Regions from separate parts of the Homo sapiens genome. Here all the other regions are linked to region 1. The links are contacts of gene promoters, found by promoter capture Hi-C in blood cells and fetal thymus (Javierre and others, 2016). All regions are on one chromosome and are shown on one strand. The core of a region is centred on a gene start or on the middle of the fragment in contact, and the rest is flanking DNA. Distances in the headings are between cores, read along the strand shown.

Region 1 (2,852 bases), core at 62-2,561:
TTTAATATTTCCAACATACACTGTTTTCTCTTTCTCTTCTTGCATTGTTTTTCAAAACGAGTTGCAAAACTATGATCACTAATGTGTTAGGAAAGAAAAAAAACTAGTTGCAAAACATTACAACTTAGCTCACCTTCGCAGTTCAAGATTATTTTCTTTTTTATGTACTACCTGGTTTATCAGCTTTAACCTACAATATCTCGTCATTGCTTTCTGACACTCAAATTCAGTCTAAAATCAAATCAAGAATTTCCTAACACAAAGGTAAGTTTAGGTATAGGACCGATCTTATACCTTCAAGGGCAGTTTAAAGATTCTGCTAAAAATTAGTATGTATCTCCATCAATATTTTGAAATATTTATAACTGGTGGTAAGAATAGCCTTCCTACATGGGATAGTCAGGTTAAGATTAGAAATAACCAAGCGTATCCTCTAAGATAGTTTTTTAAATGTTTAAACTTACCTTTAAGGGAAATAAGTGGGGGCTGACTCACGGAAAGAGGGGATAGAAGGTAGGGAAAGGGCGAAGGCTAGAGTTAAGTGAAGAATCCCGTACGTAGAGTGACATCATAGAGGACTTTTGGCTGGTGAAAAGACCAGTCGGGAATATAGCCAATATATATCAACCTTGCCACTCATATAACTTAAAACCGACTGCATATGTATCCCCGTATTTCTTCTTCAAAACACTACTAACAAATAATAAATCACCGCCCATATAAGCAATCTGCGACTCTAATACGGGTGCTAATTTATTTGTTCAGGTGGTCTACAAACGTTCTGTTCTGCCTGTCTATTAAATTTCCACACGTACTAGGCGCTCACATGGGATAACCTGATGCTTACAAAGCGGATTAAACTCAGTGGCAAATGTTATCTGGGTATTCGTTTACACACGGAGACACCCCTAAAGGATCGCACCTGCTTGGGTCATAAGAAACAGAAAAATGCAAAAACTAAGGTAATTCCAAAAGACAGAAAACGCAGAACGCTTCTTTATCTGCAGAATGTACCGTTCTCGGACGGCTCAACGTACCAGGCTCCCAGCAACTAAGTCAAGATGCCTCCAACTCGAGAGACAGGACCGTCAGCCACTCAGTTAGCAGCTATCTTCTTCTAATTCCTATTGTACTAGATGAGCGCAATGAGGCGGGCTCTTAGCCGACAACCAACCAATTGAGTATTGTATGGAACCGGAAGAGACTCTGGTCCTGGAATTCTTGGGTATTCTCTATGGTTCCAGGGTCAAGCGGCGCTAAGAGAAGGCGGGACAGAGGAATGGGAAATGACGTGAGGAGTGCGGAGGGGCGCGAGGTTTCAAGATGGCGGTAGCTGAGGGGTTGACCGAGAGACCCAGTTGAAGGCCTTTACGAAGTGAAAGAGGCCGGGAGTCGCCCCCTACCCGCTTCTCGTAGTCCTGGGAGCACAGCAGAAGTGTGAGTGTATTGAATTGATTTACTACTCTTCCTCACCTCTTTCGTCCCTTCCACGTCCCGCGCAGCGGCTTGGGGGACACCCAGCCCCTTTGCCCCGCTCCTCCTCTCCCTGGTTGAGGTCTCCCTGTTGCGGACTGGGCTATTCCTGGGCCTGGGGTGGCGCGGCGACCAGTGGTTGCGCGGTTGGCATCGCCCGGGTCGGTTGGGGCCGCTTCTTACGCACGTTGATTAGTAGCCTTAGGTTTGACGTCTTGTACCTCGAGTCATGGTCGGTCAGCCGTCGCTATGGTTTCGTCAGTTGCTGGTGTTGCCTCCTTTGGTGAACCTGGACCCTATCCCATTGAAGCTTCTTTGGCTGTTTAGAGTTATCCAACGCTTATTTGGCTTGATTTTCCAGTCGCCTCCGCTTGTAGACAAAAAACTAATCTGCAGACTTAAGCTCCAGTGTCTTCCGTAAAATTCTCTGTAATTCGTATCCGTTGTGTTTCATTTGTGGGGGAGGAGATTCAGAACATGAGCCTGAGGAAACTTGAGAAAGGAAAGCACAAAAAACGCAGGCAATCAAAGATGGGAGAGCTTGTATATGTACTGATTTTGCTTGTTTTCCTCCTTCCCTACCTCCTACTCCCTGCTGCTCTCCCACCCCCCTAACCCCCCCATCCCCAGTTTTTCTTAGAAGGAAACCACTTGACAGGGTGTATGGTAGCTAGGCCAGGAATATGGATCCATTATAAAGATTTTAGTTAAGTAGTGAGTCAAACATCACAGGATATTTTATTTGTAATCTCATTGTATCATCAGAGCTTTGTTATAAAGTAATTGATGTCCCCATTTTTTAGATGAGGAAGCTAAAAATCAGAGCCTTTGATACCGCTGTCTTGAAGTAATTGCCACCAGAACAGCTGTGAAACATCTGGCTTTCTGAAACATCTGGCTTTCGGGGCAGTTGGACACTTGGTGAAAGAGACATTAACTGTAATAAACTGGGCTGACAAAATCTTCCCTTTCTTACCTTTAAAAAGTGTCTACTTGCAAAAGGAAGCAAATTTGTCCGCCTTTATTACTGGAAAGACTGCGCTTCAAAAAATTAAGCCCCATTATTTTGGAATAAGAGGAAGAAGTCATGTAATAGGGTACTGTGTTAATAAAAGTTTTAGCTTACAAAATATTTTTTCCTCAAACAAAAATAAGTATTCCCTTTAATTACCTTAAGAAATATATATTGGGAGTCAGGTCTTAGTAAGAAAAATATGTGTCTTAATATTTAAGTTTTGGGGAGCTCTCAGTATAGCACTAATTTCAAATATTTGCATTTTTAGTTGTGTTTTGAACTCTTGAGAGTCAAGCATTATATCTGAACTAGAACTGAATCTGAATTAAATATGCTTAAATTAATGAGTTTTTAGTGTCTTAGA
Region 2 (2,878 bases), core at 342-2,841, 390 kb before region 1:
GCTAAAAGCTTTTCTCTCATTCATGTGTTTGAGTTGACCCCAAGCATATTTTTGGTGCAAGGTCTACAGTCTTGGGAGCTGAGGACCTGATTGACCTTCATACCAGGGCTTAGACGTTGAACACGGTTGTTAATATGAAGCCCTAGCTTGAGGTTGCATCTGTTTGAGAAATACTTCCTCAGGGGAAAAGAATGATTAAGACAAGGTGTCAATTTCCAGCATGTTTATGCCAGCCTTGTAATAAGCTGACAGTGTTAATTATCTCAGTTCAGGAAGCTGAAGCCACAGTCATTTCTTCAGTCAGAAGAGATGGTAAAGTGAAATGATTTTTCTTTCCTTTTCCATAGAGCTGCATCCATACTGTTAAACAGGGATGGGCAATGTGCTCACTCCTACGTATCTATAGATATTACCTGACTGCTTTCTCATTTGACTTAACATGAATCCAGTTCAACAAATTGTTGACCAGGCAGAGCTTACCCATGGAAACTTGAAGAGGAATAGAAATGCCTTTCTCAGATTTTAAATGGCCTGAAAGAGGGAGAGAAGTCATTGAATCATACTCTTTAGGCAGTCAAAGTTCCCACACCTAGCTTTGGGGTATTGTTTTGGATGGGGCACATATGCAAACCATTGAGCATTATGCTGGACACCTATGTCCCTTCCACGTATGTTTGTCCATATGGCTTGAAAAACTTTCCCAAGACACACAAAAGCAGCTGGTGGAGTGGCTTTTCACCTTAAGTTATTCATGCATTTGATTTAAGTCATGAATTGGAGATATTAATAGGGAGCAGGATGAGAACCAAAGCTGTGAGCCTTCCAGGAAGGTGGGTGGCATATTAGCAATGTAATTATTATTAGTGATGCAACTTCTAGGTATCTGCATGTCTCAGTTTGGTGCCATATGGCAGCAGTTACTGATTTCCTCCCATCCTTTGACCGCAGTTCAATTTGAGACGAATAGATGCTGAATGGATTTGGGTAATTAACTAAACCAACAGAATACAACACACACATGCACACACACACACACACACACACACACACACACACACACACACACACACAGCCAAGCTTGCTGTGCCTTAAGAAGTTAAGTGGAAATTTTCCATGGGAAGTTATGGAACTGGAATACATAATCTTTTGTGGAATAGGGTGAAGGCCACCTACTTAGCAAGAGGAAAATGAGTGGGCAAGAAAGCAAAGATTAACAATGGCCTCTCTGTTGCTCCAACTCTTCGTTCCCTAATCAGGCACCCTTGGCATTCTGAGCAGTGCCACTTGTGTGAGAGGTGGAAAGGGGAGGCAGGATGGTCTTATAGGGTTTGTATGTCATTCCATTTGTGACAGCTTGGGCTCATCCCAGTCGTTTTGGACCTTACCCAAGGCAGTATTCCTGGAGGCATTTTGGAAATCTCCTCAACTCTGCCATCATATCTCGTGGGCTATCTAGAATCTTCCCATGTCAGCAGTTATTTATTCATTAGCCATGACTATAATGATGTTCAGAAGGGCTTTATTCAAGCCACTTTGCAAGCATTAATTTGACAAGCTCTCTAGCTTTCTGGGTAGTAGATTAAACCTTTCCACAAAGTGTTTGCTGGAAGGTAATGTATATAGACATTTAGAAAACAAAACAAATGGAAAAAAACTATCAATTTTTGATGGCTATAAAGGACTGAATCCTTGGCATCAGTTACCATGTGCCATCTGGCAGCCTGGAAATTGGTCTTATAGAGATAGTGGATATTGACGTGGTTGTGGAAATTGCACCTAGAGAACCCATTGCCCCGTGTAAGATTTCCTCTGTGAATTTCATTAAGTTCTCAGTGGTCAGACACATTCAGCCCAACATCCTGCAGCAACCAGAGGGTGAAAAATGGACACAGCAAGAGATCCTGCTGTTGTTAACCAATAAAGCAAAATAGAACTCCTTTCTTGGCATCTGAACGCTGAACATCATGTTAAGCATTCTTGGAAGAGATGGGCTCCAAGATTTTAAGCAACACCAAGGCTCTATATACAGTGTATGAATCTGAGATGATGGAATGGCAGGAAGAGTGTGGCATTCATAATAGAGATTTCATTGAACACCAAGCTTTTTTTTTTTAGGGAGATCGGGCTCCTTCTTCCTCTTCTTTGTTTTTTAAGTTAAAAACATTCAGTCTAATAAAACTGATTTTCAAAAGCACATGTTCTGAGGGGAGAGTGTATATATTTTGAGAACCGAGGAGTAGCAGACAATATGTGAGAGAATAGGAAAAGAGTGTTTCAAGAGGCCATTCAGTGACTTCTGAATGATCATTCACGATTATACTTAAATATGTCTTGCCTTTGCTCCCTAACAGCAAGGCCTGGAATGTGCTGTTGAAGGAAACCAGTGTTTGTTATTTAGAGCGCAGCCTGAACCCTGCAAAAGTTTTTCATGCAAACATAGATGTCCCCCAGCTGCGCACTCTCTCCTTTTCACCTGTCAGCATATGATTTAGCACAATCCCCTGAAGGTTCTCAAAACAGGGAAATAATCTTAAATTCTTGCACAGAGTTCATGAGTCATTGTTTTGATTGTTCTTGTAAAGGTACTTACTTTTTTTTCCTGCTGTCAATGTGAAATCTCACATTCAAATCCTTTTGGAGGGAGGGATGGGAAAGTAAGAATAAAAAGAAGCAAGCCTCTTTTCACCAATTTGCTCCTTTCTATAGGATTAATAATAACCTGAATCGTTTACCTACCACTGAAACTTAGGAAATAACACATCCAGGGGAAATGATAGCCAAAGCGTTCTAAGGCAGATTTCTCTCATTTGCAATTATACTTGTACTTTCTCTTACTTACAATATTTTTCCATCCAAACCAGACCCAGAGTGAAAATAC
Region 3 (2,861 bases), core at 107-2,606, 410 kb after region 1:
AAAAATAAGAAAATTAAAAAAAATCAGCAAAGCTGAAAAAATATACAAGTTTTCCAATAATAAAGGTCTATTGAATCCCAAAACAAACTAAATTAAAATAAGCAAAATAAAATTTTTTGACACCTAGGCATACTGCAATAAGATTTCAGAAAATCATTATAGGGAAATATTAATAACTTAGAATATCATTTAACTACAGAAGAGAAAGAATTAAACTGGCATCAGACTTGTCATCAGCAATACTGAAAGCTAAAAAAAAAACAATATCCTCAAAATTCATGGGAAAAGTTATTTTCACTGTGGAATTCTACAGCTAGCAAAGCTAGCAGTCAGCAAGAGTGAGGAAATAAATATATTACTTCTGAGCAAAGACAGAGAATGCAGACCTTTGCTAAAATGATTATATATAAATATAAGTACAAGACCAGACAGCAGAAGAACCTATGAAGAAATTCAGATAAGGAAATTAGCAAAGCTCCAAAAAACAAGTAAAACTCTTGAGCAGGCTGAAATAACTGAGGATCAATCATCTTTAAAATAAATATGTTATTTATCCAGATAATTGCAATGTGTAAGTTAACTAACAGGTTGCAGAATATGGGGCAAAAATAAAGAAAATTATCAATCAGGGAAAAACCTGATGGGTTTCAAGCGTGTAAAACAACAAAAATATCATTAGCTATGCACTATAAACGAGACATACCTTAGAGTAACAGCATAGAAAGGTTGAAACAGAAGGATAGAAAATGATACGCTAGGCAAATAGTACCACAAAAAAGGGTAGGTATACATATAAAACCTATATATGACATATAAAAAAGAATTCAAGTTGAAAATCAAGTAATAGAACAAAAAAAAGAGATATGTCCTATTGATAAAACAAGTTTAAATAATTCAGGAAAAAACTAATAAATTCACAATCAGAAATAAATCTATGGATGAAGAACACAAAAGTAATAAGCAATGAACAACCCATTAGCATGTCAGAATAACAAAAATAAATAGAACTGTATACCCAATAAACCCAAAATATAATTTTTTTCACAAATACAGCCAATGTACATCAATATTGACCATGTGTATGGCGACAAGAAAATCTTAACAAACTCAAAGACAAAAAAAAAAAACCACAAGGCTATATTCTGTAGTCATAATGTAATAAATATACCAACAAGATGACAGAAAAATTATCTCCTTATAAATAAAAAAAAAAACTTTTAGATGTAGGAGGAAATCAGTGATAAAATACCAACGAAGTATTAAAAGAATACAACCTAGGGAAATCAGCTAAAATGATATTCAGATTAAAACTGATAGCCTTAAATGCATATATTAACAAAAAACACAAACTCAAAAACATTAATAAAGGCAAAAAGGTATAATCCCAAAGCATGGAATTACAATAAAAGCAGAAAATTATGAAAGAAAACAAATGAGCAAGCAATTAAGGAACCAAAAGCCAGTTCTTTAAAAACACTATTAAAACAGAAAAAAACCTTGCAAGGAAGACAGACACAAAGCATAGTAAATATAACGAACAACATGAGAAATTATTAAGAAAACATAATAACGTAACAATTGTTTCAAATATTAAAGTATGTTAAAGTTTATCAATGAATATTAGGGAAAGACTGAGGTATTTTAACTTAATGCAAACTCAAAAAATCATCTCAAGGTGGCTGCCAAAAATGCTAATGCAAAGTTAAACTGTAGAACAAATAGCCAAGGAGAAGGGGAAAATTTTTAGAGTAATTATGTTTGGTTCTGAGCATCACAGATAAAGAAGGACTTATTAATAACTGTGGGATGACCATGCTAAAGAATGCTCTGGAACAGTAAGTTGTATGAGGAAATGTCAGGAAAAAATAAAAGATATTGATATTTAGCCTAGAAAACATAAGAAAATTTTAATGAGCTTTCTTTAAATAGTACATATTTGTCATGTAAAAGAGATACAAGAGAAAGAGAGCTACAGACAGACAGAAAGTGGGGGGCTATGAGAAGCAAAAATAAAAGTAATGAAAGGCAACTTCATCTCAAAATCAACAAATGTTAATTTGTTTGGATGCCCAATAAAAGAAGAAACTGATTTATGAAAATAGAGACTCTCCCTTCTGTCATTAGAAATAGTGAAGTATAAACTAGATAATTATCTGTCAGGAATATCAAACAGTAGGTTCCTGTGCAAAGTGCAATATTAGAAACTACCTGACCACTTAGGTTCATTTCATTTTGAAGATTTTGAGATTCTACATTGCTTGCTAAATACATTTTCTTTCTTAAAAGGAACACAAACACTTTTTAGGAACTCAAAGATTTTTATACTCCAAATTTTGGATCATTCACACTCAACTTCAATAGCCTCAAAGACTATATACCTTTATCCTCATTGTTTTTTTGGTGTTTTGTTTTTTTGTTTGTTTTTGGTTTTCTTTTTTAGAGACGGAGTTTCGCTCTTGTTGCCCAAGCTGGAGTGCAATGGTGCGATCTTGGCTTACTGCAACCTCCGCCTCCCGGATTCAAGCAATTCTCCTGCCTCAGCCTCCCAAGTAGCTGGAATGACAGGCGTGCGCCACCACATCTGGCTAATTTTTTGTATTTTTAGTAGAAACGGGGTTTCACCATGTTAGTCAGGCTGGTCTCGAACTCCTGACCTCAGGTGATTCACCTGCCTCGGCCTCCCAAAGTGCTGGGATTACAGGCGTGAGCCACCACGCCTGTAATCATACTCATGACTTTTATCTTTGTTTTGATTGTCTATGTACAAAATATACCTCTGTCCTACTATCCCTCATCTTTCTTTGCTATGACCTCCAACTCTAACAGCATTCAATAAATTCCTGTTTTTGTCTATCAACTCT
Region 4 (2,875 bases), core at 347-2,846, 390 kb after region 1:
CTTTAAATTATCTTTAAATTACCTATAATACCCAGTATAACATAAAGGCTATGTAAACAGATGTTACACTGTTGCATTGTCAGCTACGGTTCTCTTAACTGGTATAAAATAACTGTCACTAGCTATCCTGCCATCTTAAAAAAAAAAAAAAACAGTAAGTGGTGAAATCTGTTTATCAAATACTCATAAACTCAGTTGAGTAAGTTATCAAGTGATCATAATATTTGACACTTTCACAAATTAACCCCTCTGCCTGTCACCGACCAAAATGTGGAATGCAATATCCCCAAACTAAATTGTAAAAAATAACCAACCACAAAGGAAACTGGGAGTTTGCTTTACCAACAATTCCCTAGACAAGGTTACCAACAATTCCCCAGACAAGGCAGGAGTAAATCATGTCCTTAAAAGTTTGGTTACATCAAAGCCAGAACTGTCACTACAATCTAACTTCTTGTTGCATTCAGTGCTATGTTTTCAGAAATTTTGGAATGGTCCACATGATAAAAACATAAGATACCTTAAAATTACTTCTCCAAGTCAATTTTTGGGATCATTGTGTTACATGGGCAAAATAAAATTAAATGACCTGATCCAACAAATGCCATTTTAGAATACATAGAGCAAATTACACCCCCTTAGAAAATTGGCCAATTTTCCATCAAGGCCCTACTCACTAGCTTGCCAAACTCTACTATCCCTATGCAGATAAGGAGTGAAGTTACAGAAGGTCTTGTATTTATCTCCACAGGCATTTAAGAAATCATTTGTCCAGAGCTGGGCGCAGTGGCACATACTTGTAATCTCAGCTACTTGGGAGGCTGAGGCAGTGGACTGCTTGAGCCTAAAGGGTAGAGACCAACCTGGGCAGCACAGCAAGACCAGGTCTCATTAAAAAAATAAATAAATAACCAGCAGTAGAAATCATTTGTCCAAACGTACTTTTCACATTTTGCTTGGGTGAAGTAAAACACCCAGAATGAGGTATGAGGAGCTGAAAGATGTAAATCCTTCAAATGCCTGGAAATAACTCTTACTTTTCTTATTAACCCAACCTAAAGAGAAAAGCTGGACAGCTAACTTTCTGTGTCAGTCACCTTTTACTAGATGATAATGCAGCAACAACAATAAAATTTCACTGGCTAATAACTGTATACTTTTTCATTATTCTAGGACACCAGGCTGAAGGAACAGCACCCCCTCACCCCATCTAGGCCTTGTGGCAGAGGTAAAAGACCAATATGACAGAGATATACAGTATACAATAGCTTTTAGCTAGGGTGTCCAAACTTTTGGCTTCTCTAGGCCACAATGAAAGAACTGTCTTGGGTCACACATAAAATACGTTAACGATAGCAGATGAGCTGAAAAACAAAATTTCATAATGTTTTAAGAAAGTTTACAAATTTGTGTTTGGCTACATTCAAAACAGCCCTGGGCTCTATGCAGCCTGTGGGCCCTCGGCAGGACAAGCTTATTTTAAAGCTTTTGCTTAGACATGGTGTACATTACTTTCATTCACATTCCATTGGCTAAAACCAAATTAAGTCACTAAGGGCATGGGAAGTAAAAAACCTCCCAAGGGGAAACACCTCATGTCACATGGCAAAAGGTAGGGACATATAATCCTCTTGCTGTAAAGAAGTATAATTATAAAATATCATGCAAACTATCACACTTTAAAATACACATATTCTAAAAAGCTTGGCATAACAAAAAGACTTCTGAACTAACAAAACTAGGTTCTATTCCATGTTCTAACATTAGTATACAACCACCATAGAATAAATCAATTTAACTCTCTGGAGTTCAGTTTCCTCAACTGTAAAACTGAAGAAGTTAGGGCAGATGCTTGCTAAGTTCCATTCTAGCTCAAGTTTTAGCTATACTGACACATATAATTTTTTATTATGAAATAAAAATAAAGTGCCCTGTACAACACAACAGCTTACTCCTTCTTCTCCATTCTTGACTCCTAAATGCAAAGATAAGCATAATCTTGAATTTGATGTTTATTATTCCCAACCATGCCTTATAAATTCTGCCTTTTATTAACACCTTGAAAAAAAACCCTTTTATTACACACCTTGAAAGGAGAAAAAGAAACTGATGCTTATCGAGGAATAATATATGTGAGTCACTATAACAAAACATATCCTTTTCTCATTAGTTTATGTGATAATTTATATTAATTTCAACTTTACATATGATGTGAATTAATAAATCAATAATTATATTACTATCAATAATTACACAAATAGTAATTTTAACTTGGTAAGGTAAAGCAGACACCCAATTCAGTACCAAGTTGTTTTCTTCAGCACAGGAACCCTTCTTATGCATTTCATCATTTAAGTTTTGGTACCATTTTAATAGAATGTTCAGCAATTGTCTTCTTTATCTCTTTGAAAATGGAGATGCCATTTAAGATCACTGGTAATACCTATCTACTCAGTAAATGAGACCTGAGAGTAGACTCCCTCCCCAATTTCACCAGCCTGCTGACTGCTTCATGTATTAGCTACAAGAGTATTACCAGCAGCTTTCTAAGTATTAAATTATCTCATCCTTAATTTAACATAGCAATTAAGAGCAGAATTCACTCAACCAACTAAGAATAGAAGAGGATTTCCTCAACCTGATAAAGGGCACCAAGGAAAAACCCACAGCTATCATACTTAATGGTCAAAGACTGAAATCTTTCACCCTAAGATCAGAACAAAAGATATCTGCCCTCACCATTTCTAGTCAGCATTGAACTAGAAGTTCTAGCCAGGAGAATTAGGCAAGAAAATGAAATAAAAGTCAAACAACTTTTTGTTTGTTTTTTGAGACATGGTCCCTCTCTGTCACCCAGGCTGCAGTGCACTGGCAC
Region 5 (2,700 bases), core at 155-2,654, 320 kb before region 1:
TATATATTAAATATCAAGGGTCTTTATAGGGTATGTTACTAGGATTATAGACAAAATTCAAAAGGCATTCATGATGTGAAGGTTATGAGTAATATTCCTTGAAGCACTTTTAATTGGAGCAGAAATTCTTTTCCTAACCAAAAAAAAATCTGTCCTGGCCATTTTAAACACTTTTAGTTACATTTTTCCAATGCAATCAACTCACCACAGTCCCATAAATACATAATACTTTTTCCAGCTGGAAAAAAAATTTCCAGCATTTTTCCATAATAAATACTTATTGTTGTATGCTACAAAGTTTTGGAGCGGATTTGTTATATAGCAATAGCTGTATGCCTGGGGACCTATAGAAAAGAACAATCACAACTGTGTAGGAGGTTACATATGCTTAAGTATCTTAGAAAAAAATTGCATTATATACATTGTTAATCAAGTTACTTCATGAATTCTATAAAGAAAAGTAATGACATATTTTTCAAGTATGATACTGAAAGGTAGCATTTGAAAGTTTTGCCTGAATCTCTCTTGAATATGACTCTTAAATAAGGAATAGCATGTGTGTTAGTTTACATTTACCTTGAAGAGTTCATTTCTTGCTGAAGCTGATTTATTGTACAGATCATACCTAATTAATTTTCATTTTAAAATATTATTCTGAAACTAAATCTGGCACTCCTGATGCCTGCTTCTTCTTGATAATGATGTCAGGAATTATTTTGAGTAACCAGCATAGATTGGTTAATTTTTAGAAATAACGTGACTATTTTAATGTAGTGGTTTTACCTTTTAGCTCTTACTTATGAATGGAATATCATGCCACTGAATGATTACATTAAGTGACTTTTAAAAATATTTTATTGGATTAAATGTTTCTTTACCAAATTTTCCATTTTGTTAGAAACCAATTTTCATTAATAATCATAAAATTCATACTACCAGTAATACTAAAACAGAACCACAGATGATGAAGAATTAGCCAAGTAGGTTGTAAATTAGGCAAAAGGAGGAAAACAGTCTTCCCTACATTAGCCATTGGACATGTTTGGCTTGTTTAATGGAAAGGCAGGGGTTGTTCAGGCAATGGGAAGAAAATAAAATATTTCAGAAGGCAGAGACTCAACAGTAACTACTAATCAAATATGTCAAACCTTAAAACTTCTGGAGCAACAAGGCCTTAAATCAATACCACCATTTTACTTCAAAAGACAAACTTTGCTCAAGATAGTTGGGATGGAGAGGGAAGGGAGTCAAAAGGAAATTAGGTCAATCTTTATAGTACCCATTTTCATTAATTATAGTTAAATTAGATTATTAATGTATTAATAATGTAATAAACTTAAAAATTAATAAGTTTTAATATTTATTATATAAATTTAATAAATTATACAACTGGGATAAAATTTTATTATTTAAATTTAATAAATTAACTATTTTGAATATATATTTATTATTTAAATTTAATACATTAAACAACTGTTTTGAATATATATATATTTATATAATAATATATATAACTTTTTTGAGTTTTTGAGCATTCATACACATATATATGCTCAAAAACTCTAGCACTCTAGAGTTCTTTTGCCTCTTCCACTCTACAGCTTCAGAAAGTATTGCTGCATAACTGCACAGGCACTAACCAAGGTTCTTAACTGACATCCAGGCATTTACAAATGATTCAATTATGTTCAGTATACTTGGTTTTGAAAGCTGATGGACTGTCTAATACATTTTTTAAATATTTTGAGAAATGATTCAAATTTAAATGGTTTTGGAATTGAAGAACTGTAAACTTCGCTCATGTAAAAAATTAAGCTCATTTTTTCATCATGGCAGATAATTAAGTTTTCTAGGTTGCAGCCTTTAGTGTTAAAACTACATAGTCTGGCCGGGCGCGGTGGCTCACGCCTGTAATTCCAGCACTTTGGGAGGCCGAGGTGGGCAGATCACGAGGTCAGGAGATTGAGACCACCCTGGCCAACATGGTGAAATCCCGTCTCTACTAAAAATACAAAAATTAGCTTGGTGTGGTGGCACGCGCCTGCAATCCCAGCTACTCGGGAGGCTGTGGCAGGAGAATTGCTTGAACCCGAAAGGTGGAGATTGCAGTGAGCCGAGATCATACCACTGCACTCCAGCCTGGGCAACAGAGGGAGAGTGTCAAAAAAACGAAAACAAAAAACAAAAAAAAAAACAACTACGTAGTCTAACAAAAGATGGAACTCTTTAAATCGTGCAAGCTGTTAGGTGTTTATTAATGTTGCTAATTGTACAAAAGAAAAAATATGTTTACTGCTTACTGCTTCCTGTATGTAAAAATAAAAGTTTCAGTCTCAAGAGAATGACAATGACAGACTCTGAAGACTGCAGATAAAACCACAAGTACAGTCACTGTGGGAAGTATTACAGGGTCAGTGGCCTTGCTACTTTAGGCACTGCAAATATTTTGGCTCGAATTCAGCCTCACACTCTGTAATTACAAAGAACATTGGTAGTTTCCATCTCCGGCCCCTGGTCAAGAAGCCACGTTGTGCTCTGTTTTGCGAAGTCCTCATGCAATTTACACTGCCATCTCCCATATAAAACTGTACAGGAGGAAGGTTATACCTCTGTTTTTCCTAAAAGTGAGACTAGGCAAAGACTGACAGTGACCTTCCACTAACTAGTTTTATTTCTTCAAGGAGTATCCTTTGGCTGCTA
Region 6 (2,700 bases), core at 62-2,561, 420 kb after region 1:
TGGATGATAAAGTTGAAGAAACCAACCTTAGCAAAAAGACAAAATTACAAATCAGAAGAAAAGATACAATTGGAGTATCCATCCAAATATTCAAATTGGAATCACACACACACACACAAATACATCACCAATGAAATCATTTAAGAAAACTTTCCAGAGTTGAAGGGCAAGAATTTCCAGACCAAAGAGCCCAAAGCATGCCAGCAGACCATAATAAACAGATCCACACAAGGGCAGGTTCCATTGAAATTCCATAAGACTAAAGACTAATAACCAATTCTACAAGCTTCCACTGAGAGGAGAAATCTGAAATCAGAATGGCTTCAGATTTCTCAGTGGTGATAATAGTAGGAAGAAGATAATGGAGCAGTGTCTTTAAAATTCTGAAGGAAAAGAATTTCAACCTAGAGTTCTATACCCAGCCAAACTATCAATCAAGCATGAAAACATAGAATGACCTTTTTCAAACATGCATTGTCTTTAAAACCTGTATCTCCCATGCACCCTTTCTCAAAAAGCTACTAGAGAATGTGTAGCTTTCTACAGGCAGGGAGAATTCTAAGAATTCTCCTGCCAAGGACAGAATAAATCAATAAAAAGACATAGCATTTGGAAAACAAGGGTCCTAGAAGACAGGTGAAGGAAATCTTCACTGATGGTTGTATTAGTTCATTCTTGCATTGCTATAAAGAAATATTTGAAAATGGGTAATTTATTAAGAAGTTTAATTGGCTCACAATTCTGCTGGCTGTACAGGAAGTACAGTGTATCTGCTCGGGTTCTTGGGGTGGGGGCTCAGGAAATTTACAAACATGATGGAAGGCAAAGGGGGAGCATGCACATCACATGGCAGAGGCAAGAACAAGAGAAAGGTGAGAGGTGCTACACACTATTTAAATGACCAGATCTCACAAGAACTCACTCACTATTGTGGAGGACAGTACCAAGGGGGATGGTGCTAAACAATTCATGAAAAATCCAGCCCATGACCCAATTATCTCCCACGAGGCCCCACCTCCAACATAGAGGATTATGATTTAACATTAGATTTGGGTGGGGATACAAATCCAAACTATATCAATGGTGTACAAAATTCTAAGGATGACAGTTGTGTACGAGATATAGTGAGCAACTAAGCCACACAGGAGCAATGACACTCAAGAACTAAATGTGAGTCAAGATTTTTGCTGCCACCATACCTGAGGAATTGTGTCTTATAAATTAAGTCTTTTAAATAAATATCAAAGATTATTAGTAACTGTACCAAATCGTCTTAACTATTGCTATTTACATGGAAGAGACTCATGGATGCAGGCATCCTGGTATAAAGTTGACATCATGAGTCAACAACTGTCATAACTGTATCAAGGGAATGGGTCATGATTTTCATGATTATGTTGTACAAACCAGTCAATTCTGTGTAAGTAGGCTGCTTAACACAAGATCAAAAAAAGAAGAATTACCTAAGACTAAATGAATGATTTAATTGTGGTTAACATTTTATTTTAAATGGTCATAAGAGAACAATACTTTCATCTCAATCTATCTCTAACCCCCAACTTAAGGTATACTTTATAGAAATAGTAATATCTTTCCCCCTCAGAGATCAGGGAGAAAAATATCCTGTGAAAGGTTTTAATATAGGTTATAAGCTAAAGAAGCCACCAAAAACATTTTATGAATGATTCTGTAGAAAAATACTGAATATAGGGCCGGGCATGGTGACTCACGCCTGTAATCCCAGCACTTTGGGAGGCCGAGGCAGGCAGATCACCTGAGGTCGGGAGTTGGAGACCAGCCTGGCCAACATGGCAAAACTCCATCTCTACTTAAAATACAAAAATTAGCTGGGCGTGGTGGCATGTGCCTGTAATACCAGCCACTCGGAAGGCTGATGCAGGAGAATCGCTTGAACCCTGAAGGCAGAGGTTGCAGTGAGCCAAGATCATGCCACCGCACTCCAGCCTGGGCGACAGAGCAAGATTCCATTTCAAAAAAAAAAAAAAAGAAAAAGAAAAATACTGAATATATTGTTCAGTCTTGTCCAGAAACTGCTTAGACCAATGATTAAATACTGTATAAAGTATCATAACTCAATCTTTTTACTTTTTATGACTCAGTTTACACAGTTTCCATAAGAATCTGTTCTCCTGCCTACCAGGATAAAATTGGGTAAGTCAGACCAGGCACGGTGGCTTATGCCTGTAATCCCAGCACTTTGGGAGGCTGAGGCAGGTGGATCACCTGAGGTGATCCTCTTGAGGTCAGGAGCTCGAGACCAGCCTGACCAACATGGTGAAACCCTGTCTCTACTAAAAATAGAAAAATAAGCTTGGTGTGGTGGTGGGTGCCTGTAATCCCAGCTACTCAGGAGGCTGAGGCAGGAGAATCACTTGAACTCAGAAGGCAGAGACTGGAGTGAGCCGAGATCACGCCATTGCACTCCAACGTGGGTGACAGAGCGAGACTCTGTCAAAAAAAAAAAGAAAGAAAGAAAGGCCGGGCGCGGTGGCTCACGAGGTCAGGAGATCGAGACCATCCTGGCTAACACAGTGAAACCCCGTCTCTACTAAAAATACAAACAATTAGCCGGGCATGGTGGCTGGTGCCTGTAGTCCCAGCTACTCGGGAGGCTGAGGCAGGAGAATGGCGTGAACCTGGGAGGCGGAGCTTGCAATGAGCAGAGATCTTGCCACTGCA
Region 7 (2,700 bases), core at 136-2,635, 410 kb before region 1:
AATGACCAACACATCTAATGATCATTTTCCAGTTCTGATCTTCTTAGACTTCTTTCTATCATCACACAGCTGCTTATTCTTTCCTGAAATTCCTTCCTTCCCAGGCTCCCATGACATCACACTCTTTGGCTTTGCTGCTCTCTCTCCGTAGCTCCTAACTAGCTGTTTTCATGGGTTTGCTCTTCGTCTGCGCACTTCTCAAAGTTGAAGCTTCCAGGGTTCTATATATCATCCTCTTGCGTCCTTACTCCATACACTGCCCCTAGAAGTGCTACTCACACCCAAAGCTGAAGATAACACCTGCACAGAGAGATCAAATTCTGCTGACCTGAATTTTATTTTATGTAAAATGCACAGGTTGAAATTGCTCACTAAGTTTCTTTCCAACTCTAACATTCAAATCTTCTTTGGACTGTTTTCTCTATTTGCCTTGAATACATTCCACCATTTGTGTTTGTTTTCATTTAGGTGAAAATGACAATGACAGACTACATATCTTTAACAATTGCCTTTTTGTCTGTCATCTATAAACAGACAGTGTTTTCCTATGTCAACATTAAATTATTTTTCTGAGACCTGTAACTGCACCTCACATTTTAAAAGTAGCACTCGTTTGATGCATGGGTGAAAATTGTGAAACCTTTTTCCATAGTTCAGTGAAAACGACCACAAACTACTTCATATCTACCAATTTTATTTTAAGACACTGGGTCTCCCTCTGTCGCTCAGGCTGGAGTGCAGTGGCATGATCATAGCTCACTGCAGCCACCAACTCCTGGGCTCAAGAGATCCTCCCACCTTGATCTCCCCAGTAACTAGGACTACGAGTGTGTCCTACCACACCTGGCTCATATGCAACAATTTTGAAAATAGACTGCAACAATATTGAATTTATGTTGATTCTGATTCTTTGTGAATATGGCTATTTGATGTCTCTGCCTCATCATTGTATCACACATTTATCTTTCTACTGCAGAGACTTTATCAGTCTTATAGGTAACTTTTGCTTGTTTAAGTCTGCAAGAAATTATACCTGCTGGAATGTAATTCGGTAGCTCCTCACTGAATTGTTTCAGAGGCTTAAGTCTTACCTGTCCCCTCTACTTTCCCCACACTTAATACCAGTAGGAATTGGGGGTAAATAAGACCATATTGCCCATTTGCTAACGAGGAGTCGTATAGCTTGGAGTTAAAGAGTGTGAGCTTTTGTTTGCCCTGTGAACTTGGCAACTTTGGCAAGTTACTTAACCAGTCGATTTCTTCAACTATGAAGAACATATAATAGCATCTCAGTTGTTACTAGGATTGAATGAGTTGTTACATGCAAGTGTTCCTGGCACATTGCAAATGCTCAAAATTAGCTTATATTATTATAATTTGTTAAGGTATGCTTTTTTAATTTGTAAGTTCCACAGTGAAAACATACAATTAAAGATATACTTGCATTCAAGTGAGTATTTTGGTTTTCACTAAGTCAGACAGCTTATAAGGTAAAAACTCCACACACGCGCACACACACACACACACACACACACACACACACACACACACATACTTTCTCTGTTTTTCTCTTTCTTGAACCTAAAATCTGGTTAATGTCAATTATAGCTTGACCACAGATGATCATAACAATACTTCGTATGGCTTATATTTAATCTTGTAAAAAGCCAGAAATATATTAGTGTCACCAATAAATTAACACTTTTAAATTTGAAAGTGCTTCTGGTATGTGGCAGATGGCTTCCTAAGCCCAGGTGATAGATAGGCCGTCTATATTTAAAACAGAATTTAACATTTACCAGAACTTTTTCATTGACAGTTTGACCACAGACATGTCAGCAAAGGCAAAAATTTAATAATGTGCTGATTACTAAGGAGCACTGATAAAACATGTGAGGGATGTGTGTATGTGCACGCACATGTGTGTAATATATAAGTGTTTACATGGTCTGCTGTATTGGGGGAATTCTTGTTCCTTCTAAGTTTATCTTGCAGTTCTGTCTTCAAGTGAGCTTGCTGGCATAGGGATAGTACAGTGAACTCTGTGGGGACGCTGCAAAGTGTAGGGTCATGATTTCCCAGCCCTTTCTATCTTTTCTTGCCCCAGCCGGGTAAACATTTACTTTCATTGGCTAAGGGTGAAGCACTAATAATGTGGCATGCAAGGCACAGATTTCCTTACTTGTGTGCATCAGCCTATATTTTGACAAGCTCCAAGTAATTAAAGTGATAAGACTTGCCAATAAGCCTAGAATGCACACATTTTTATTTAAATGCTTCTTGTAGTCGTATTATTCAGATTTGTAGTAAGTGTGGGAGGGGGCTGATAGAGAAACAACTGAAATTGTAAATTTAGCTTCACAGTTGACATTCTCATTTTAGAACTGAAATATTGTGTGCCACAGCTAACTATATTGCTTGAAAGGGCTAGTCTTAAAGTTAATTGAGTAATGCTATCCTGTAATTCAAAAGCCAATTGGTGCACTCATCCATGAAGGCTTAAGTTCATAGACTCAGATTGCCAAGCTATAAACTGGATGCCAAACACAAACAAGCTTGTGATATTTTTTTCCGTGGCACAAAGAGAAGTGATTTTTCATCCTATTTTTTGTTCTTTTTCTTGTCTGCTTTTTTCTCTGTCAATTATAAAGAAGTTTTTAAAAGCTTTTTTCATCTTATTTTTAAGTGGGACAGGGACTA

The links. The method cuts DNA at HindIII sites, captures the fragments that hold promoters and counts their contacts. A CHiCAGO score of 5 or more calls a contact.
Region 2: a fragment that was not itself captured here is called in contact with the fragment with the promoter of WBP11 in region 1 in 1 of 17 cell types (fetal thymus); the score reaches 5.7 in fetal thymus.
Region 3: a fragment that was not itself captured here is called in contact with the fragment with the promoter of WBP11 in region 1 in 2 of 17 cell types (naive CD8 T cells and activated CD4 T cells); the score reaches 5.6 in naive CD8 T cells.
Region 4: a contact is called between a fragment that was not itself captured here and the fragment with the promoter of WBP11 in region 1, in 2 of 17 cell types (total CD8 T cells and naive CD8 T cells). The highest score is 7.5, in total CD8 T cells.
Region 5: a contact is called between a fragment that was not itself captured here and the fragment with the promoter of WBP11 in region 1, in 1 of 17 cell types (megakaryocytes). The highest score is 6.9, in megakaryocytes.
Region 6: a fragment that was not itself captured here is called in contact with the fragment with the promoter of WBP11 in region 1 in 3 of 17 cell types (naive CD8 T cells, fetal thymus and neutrophils); the score reaches 6.3 in naive CD8 T cells.
Region 7: a fragment that was not itself captured here is called in contact with the fragment with the promoter of WBP11 in region 1 in 1 of 17 cell types (megakaryocytes); the score reaches 5.2 in megakaryocytes.

What each region holds. Positions count from the first base shown.
Region 1 is chr12:14,801,937-14,804,788 of GRCh38, reverse strand. WBP11 (WW domain binding protein 11) reads left to right here and starts at 1,311. Exons shown (of 12, transcript NM_016312.3): 1 at 1,311-1,437. C12orf60 (chromosome 12 open reading frame 60) reads right to left here and starts at 1,119. Exons shown (of 2, transcript NM_175874.4): 1 at 1,038-1,119. It overlaps SMCO3 (single-pass membrane protein with coiled-coil domains 3), which reads left to right. Exons shown (of 2, transcript NM_001013698.2): 2 at 1-139. RefSeq lists an enhancer at 776-1,015. The HindIII fragment of the contact is 2,157 bases long and covers 1-1,785 here.
Region 2 is chr12:15,193,745-15,196,622 of GRCh38, reverse strand. The region is part of intron 2 of RERG (RAS like estrogen regulated growth inhibitor); the gene reads left to right. Among named protein-coding and RNA genes, the nearest start is that of RERG, 26 kb to the left of the region's middle. The HindIII fragment of the contact is 1,024 bases long and covers 1,080-2,103 here.
Region 3 is chr12:14,396,741-14,399,601 of GRCh38, reverse strand. The region is part of intron 1 of ATF7IP (activating transcription factor 7 interacting protein); the gene reads right to left. Among named protein-coding and RNA genes, the nearest start is that of ATF7IP, 32 kb to the right of the region's middle. The HindIII fragment of the contact is 6,932 bases long and covers 1-2,861 here.
Region 4 is chr12:14,412,969-14,415,843 of GRCh38, reverse strand. All of the region lies in intron 1 of ATF7IP (activating transcription factor 7 interacting protein), which reads right to left. Among named protein-coding and RNA genes, the nearest start is that of ATF7IP, 49 kb to the right of the region's middle. The HindIII fragment of the contact is 218 bases long and covers 1,488-1,705 here.
Region 5 is chr12:15,122,283-15,124,982 of GRCh38, reverse strand. All of the region lies in intron 2 of RERG (RAS like estrogen regulated growth inhibitor), which reads left to right. Among named protein-coding and RNA genes, the nearest start is that of RERG-IT1, 9.0 kb to the right of the region's middle. The HindIII fragment of the contact is 3,565 bases long and covers 1-2,700 here.
Region 6 is chr12:14,377,408-14,380,107 of GRCh38, reverse strand. The region is part of intron 1 of ATF7IP (activating transcription factor 7 interacting protein); the gene reads right to left. Among named protein-coding and RNA genes, the nearest start is that of ATF7IP, 13 kb to the right of the region's middle. The HindIII fragment of the contact is 2,045 bases long and covers 289-2,333 here.
Region 7 is chr12:15,212,849-15,215,548 of GRCh38, reverse strand. All of the region lies in intron 2 of RERG (RAS like estrogen regulated growth inhibitor), which reads left to right. Among named protein-coding and RNA genes, the nearest start is that of RERG, 7.2 kb to the left of the region's middle. The HindIII fragment of the contact is 2,345 bases long and covers 213-2,557 here.